2 separate regions of the Homo sapiens genome follow, and region 1 is linked to region 2. Evidence: promoter capture Hi-C in human tissues and cell types (Jung and others, 2019). All regions are on one chromosome and are shown on one strand. The core of a region is centred on a gene start or on the middle of the fragment in contact, and the rest is flanking DNA. Distances in the headings are between cores, read along the strand shown.

What was found. The method cuts DNA at HindIII sites, captures the fragments that hold promoters and counts their contacts. A contact is called where the count stands out against the background at its distance.
Region 1: a fragment that was not itself captured here is called in contact with the fragment with the promoter of ETS2 in region 2 in 3 of the 25 tissues and cell types used here (dorsolateral prefrontal cortex, heart right ventricle and mesenchymal stem cells).

Annotation. Positions count from the first base shown.
Region 1 is chr21:38,944,977-38,947,676 of GRCh38, reverse strand. No RefSeq gene overlaps it. Among named protein-coding and RNA genes, the nearest start is that of ETS2-AS1, 7.9 kb to the right of the region's middle. RefSeq lists a silencer at 1,012-1,140 and an enhancer at 2,516-2,700. The HindIII fragment of the contact is 7,094 bases long and covers 1-2,700 here.
Region 2 is chr21:38,804,513-38,807,212 of GRCh38, reverse strand. It overlaps ETS2 (ETS proto-oncogene 2, transcription factor), which reads right to left and starts at 1,284. Exons shown (of 10, transcript NM_005239.6): 1 at 1,093-1,284. RefSeq lists silencers at 562-661, 682-781, 892-1,181, 1,372-1,441, 1,462-1,791 and enhancers at 1,902-2,061, 2,072-2,131, 2,312-2,451, 1,985-2,485. The HindIII fragment of the contact is 2,481 bases long and covers 1-2,371 here.

The sequences.
Region 1 (2,700 bases), core at 2-2,501, 140 kb before region 2:
GACATGGCTGCCCATCTGCCTGTCTTGGCCTCTCCAGAGGTGTGGGGAGATGCACTGGCTACCAGAAAGGAGAGATGGAGGGAGGTGACACCAGCACCAACCTCCGTTGGCCAGGCTCTCCTGCTGCTCTCCCCTTCCTACTGAGTTGCCAGCACTTATGAAACCATCATTACAGGCATTTTTGTTTTCTGGAAACAGAACTACCACTTCCTTACACCCTAATATGAGAGGCAGAATTTGCTATATTTCCCCCAGATCTTCTTCCATAGCGTGGAATTTTTGGCTGGGCACATGACTGCCTAGAAGAAATCACTATGTTTCCCTGCTTCCCGTGAAACTACGTGAAGACATGTGGCTGGTTCTGGCCAATGAGGTGACAACAACAAACCCCACTGTAGATGCAGACGCAGATGTGGTGGCTGGGTGCCATCTTGGACCATGAGACAAGGACCTCACCTTAGAGGGGGCCAAGTGGAAGAATGAAGAGGCCAGGTCCTGCAGGCTCGGTGAAAAAGAGCTGGATCATTTCTGCCACACTTTGCAGGGAAAATGAAGCCAAACCCAGTCCCGTGTTGTTTAAGCCACTGTGATTTGGTATCTATGATACTTGCAGTCAACCCGATCCTAACTGGTAAAATAGGTAAATTCATTCTTGGACTTTCAGACTTTTACCTTTTAAAAGTTTTGGGGGCTAAAGTAGAGGGCTGCCTGAATAGTGACTGGAGACTGGTGGCCCTTCTGGCAAGCTGCCTCCGAGAGCATGTCCCATGGCGCAGACACCCAGGAAGGAGAGGGATCATTTCTTGTATATGCGCTTCCACATATTCCCCAAGATATATGGGCTTCCACATATGTCCCTGGGGCTCCTGCCCTACAGGAGTGCTTGGTACACCCTGCTAGACCCTTGCCTGATCCCAGAGCCCCTTCCTTCTCATTTCCTTCTGAGGTCATTCTTCCCTACCCCTGGGGACAGGGCTGTCCTGATACCTTGTGGTCCCAGCACATCCTCCCCACAGAGAAGAAGAAATGGTCTCAGAGGGTGAGGACTGTTCTGCAGACATAGTCGGCAGATGGAAGAGCTGGGACTTAAACCCAAGTTCCAGGGTGCGTGCTCTCTTCTCCCTCCTTCTCCATCTCTCCCTCTCTCTCTCTCTTTATGTACCACAGTTCTCTTGTCCATAAACATTTGAGTAATATGGAAATATAGAAAGTTTAGGCCAACATAGGATGGTCAAACTTTAAGATGGTTTAATTATTTTTAATGGAGAATAGAGGTTTTTGTAATGACAATATCATCAAATGCTGTGATTAAGTGCTGAATCATAGTTGTTTAAAATACATTTCTTTATCGAGCCAATTAGCAATGCTAAAATTACCCCAGTGCTCTTACTTGAATGACCAAGAGGTTCAAAACACAAAGTTCCGGAGCAGGAGAATTAGACTGACTTACACAATAAATTATTCTTTAAGAGGAAAATCCATTTTCAAAAAATGTATACCCAAGAAGTGAGAAATGAAAATCAGGCTGAATGATGAAATGTTTTTTCACATTGTCGGAAAAATACAAGTCTCAGGAGTTGGCTTCAACAGCGCAGCCAGCGTTTCCGCAGGGCTGAGGACTGGGCTCGTGGACGGGGCTGCCCGCAGGCCTCAGTGGTGACAGTTCCAGAGCTGCGCGCACTCTGCCTGGCTGAGTGGATGCATTACCTTGCTCTCTAGAAATAATGGGAATTACCCACTTAATCCTTGGCACAAAGTGCTGATAATATGCCAATTAACGAGTAATTAGGAAGATTTTTCCCGAACATTAGGTTCTGGGAGAAAGTCTCATTTGAGAAAGAGGTTTGTATGTCTTCTCTCCTCTTCCTGTGGTTTTCAGCTCAGCGGGCGTCCAGCGAATCTGGGTTTGTTTACAATGACTCCAGGGCTGTTCCATTCACTGATTTGGTTCAAGCAGCGTGTGTAAATCATGCTATGCTGACCCTGGTCATCCCAGAGCCCGCGTGAATAAAAAAGGGGCCTTGCTCTCCCACTGTGAGACAGACTTGCATGGGATTCCTTCAGTGCAGAATTCTGGAATGTTGATGAACACCAGGTAAGCCAGGGAAGGAAAGGGAGGGAACTGCAGGAAGGGAGAGAAATGGCCCTGCCTCGGTTTCTTTCTTTCTTTTTTTCTTTTGAGACAGAGTCTCACTCTGTCGCCCAGACTGGAGTGCAGTGGTGCGATTTTGGTTCACTGCAACCTCCGCCTCCCACGTTCAAGTGATTCTCCTGCCTCAGCCTCCCAGGTAGCTGGGATTACAGGCGTGTGCCACCACCCCGGCTAATTTTTGTATTTTTAGTAGAGATGGGGTTTCACCATGTTGGCCAGGCTGGTCTTGAATTTCTAACCTCAGGTGATCCGCCCACCTCGGCTTCCCGAAGTGCTGGGATTACAGGCATGAGCCACTGAACCTGGCCCCCTACCTCGGTTTCTTTGCTCCACTTCCTGCAGCAGGGACAATGAGATCCCACCATGTTCCACAGGAGATTCCTCGCTGGGAGGGCAGAGCTGGGCGGAGGAGGATGGAGGAGCCCGGAGGCCCCTGCCCAGCAGCGAGGCCCCCCTGTGGAACCTAGAGGGGAAGCAGAAGAGGAAAAGTTGAAAGTGGTTCCAAGTTTCCGACTCTGGGAAAGAAAGCGATAGAGATGGGTAACCGC
Region 2 (2,700 bases), core at 35-2,534:
GTTTAGAGAGATGAATGACTAATCCCAGAAATGAGTATCTGAGCATTTCCCTGCGGATGGTCGGTGCTAACATTTACTGTGCTGCGCTACTACTCAGAATTTTAATAAAGCTTAACGTGGAGATTTATCTCTCTGATTGGTGGTGGTGTGGGCAGGCAGATAACGCACAGGCGCTTCCATTGTATGGAACAAATATAATCTCTTACTGGCGAATTAAAATAAATTACTCCTGTCTCCAAAGGGGACTGCTCATTTCTTTACTTTCTAAATAACTAGCGCGTCAACTACTGTTTTAGGCTACCCTGAAATTGTGTACAGGCTAACATAAAAGGTCTCCTGCCGTAAAAAATAAAATAGGATAACACACACGCAACCCAAACACACACAAGCAAACACTCAGTTACCTCTTCATTCAAATGCTGTAGGAACGAGAAAATAAAGGCAGCCCAGCGCAACCAGATCTCATTTCCGACAGGTTCCCCACGCTCTCCTCGCACGACCGAGGGGTCCCCAGCCCGGGCCCTGGACGCGGCGAGCAGGTGACCATGGCACCCCGCGCCCCGCAGGTTCCCGCGGTGCCGCAGCCTTCAGGTGTCTTGGGCGCCCCAGATCCTCCGGGCCCGGCGCCGCTCCAGGAAGTCACCCTCAAAGCCGGGGCGCCAGGCCACCTCGGACACGCTCTCCTGTGCCCCCACTCCCGTTCGCGAAATCATGTTCGCCGGGACATCCACTGGGCAGGACCCCCTACCAGGCCTGCGTTTCCTTTTAAAAACAAAAGCGAGCGAAACAAGCCAGCGCGCCCTGGCCGCGCCCGCCGCTAGGCGACCCCGAAGACAGCGGCCCTAGCACGCAGGAACCCCCCGGCCGACCCCGCCAGCCCCGGAGGCCACTCCATAACCGGAAAACGAGCCGGCGCGGAACTCAGACGCGCGCCCCTAGAGTCCTCGCAGCAGCCGCCACCCCCACCTGCACCCCCGGCAGCGCCCCGAGATCTGCGTGTCAGTGCCCCCCGCGACCCCCGCCCAGGCCCCGGGTGACCCTCCATGGGACTGGAGCCGCGCGCCGGGCGCTCTCTGCGGGCCCAGCTCTTACCCTGCCGCTGCGGGCAGGGCCGGCGCTTGGTCGGGACGGTGGCTGCTCGGCGCCCGCGGCTGCTCGGTGCGCGCCGGGCGAGGGCGAGGGCGCCGGCCAGAGACGATCAGGGAGGCCGGACGCTGGCCGGGCGGCTCCGGGAGCTCTGAGCTGGAGCGACACCGCACTCGTCAGTCTCTGGAGGAAGTAACCGGGCCGTCCCCCACGCGGCGCGCTCTTCAGGAGCGGGAGGAGGAGGGAGGAGGGAGGAGGAAGGAGGGACGGCCGAGTGGAGGGGAGGGGAGGAAACGAGGGAGGAGAGAAGAGAGAGGGGAGGGAAGGGGAGGAGAGAGAAGAGGAGGGGAAGGGAGGTAGGCAGGATGGGGAGAAGCGGGAGGAGAGGGAAGGGGGCAGCAGGAGGGTTGGGGGAGCGGAGGGAGAGGAGAGGGAACGCACGAGGGGAGAGAAGAGGAGGGCGGAGGCGGCGAGGGAGCGCGGGGCGGGGCTGACACCTTCCGGCCCAACCTTCCCTCCGCCTCCTGCTGTCACTCGGCTGGGTCCCTCGCCGGCTGGCCCTGAGGCCCCGGGAGCAGGGCCTCGGCCCCACGTGCGCGCGAGTGTGCGCCCTGGGAGCCGGGCGGAGACTTTCCGTGGAGCGCTCGGCGTCCTCTCTGGGGCCAAGGCCCTAACGCCAAACCTGCCTTTGGAATTCCGCAGCGACGGAGCAGTGGTGCTGGTGGCACCGAAGGGCAGCCGGGCTTGGGTAATAAGGCCCTGAAATTGAGCCGACCCCATTCTTGAACCTCTGAATGGGCTTAGGACTAATGATCATTCTATCACAAAAAGGCTCCAAATGAGGCGCTTCCTGTAGAAACCGGGCCCTGGCTGTGTCCCCGAGTCGTGGTGCTGATCGCGCTGCTCCCGGGAAGCCCCGATCCCGCAGGCTCCGCGGGAGTGGCGCCCTCTGGAGCTGAGCGGTGCCCAGATAGCGACCCGCCTTGGCCGCGCTTCAATCTGGGCTGGGCACTCCACGCACATCATCGTCACTCTCGGAGGACTTGCGGCTCCCACTTTACACAGGTGGGAACTGAACCTTAGGATGAATAACCTGCCACGTCAGATTGATGAGAAATTCAAGGTGGAAACCTGAGTTTATCTGACTCCGAAACCCTGGTCAAAACCACCCCCTACACTGTGGTTTCCGTTTTTATCAGAAGGTGCTTGAGTCCATGGCTGTTTGGACTCAGGTCACATGCTCAATATTTTGCAGGAAAGTTTAGATTCCTGAAGTTGTGGATGAAATAGGAAACCCCAGCTTAGGCGAGGCCACGGGGCTGAAAGCTGCTCACATCTCAAGAACTGCGGCACCACCGGGAAGGGAGAGGAATGGCCCAGCTTCTCTGTGACTCAGGGTTCTAGGTTTCCATGGTGACTCTAGGTCTAGAGTTATCCGGATAATTGAGATATCGGTGCACCTTAATGTTTCTGGGTCCCCGAAGGTCTCCGGGTATCACCGTGGCATGAGTCACAGTCAGAATCTATACGGCTGAAACAATCACGTATAGGGGAAGTGATTATTTCTTGGAGACTGAATTGATTCTGATGGCTTCTCAGTGTATATTCAGGCCC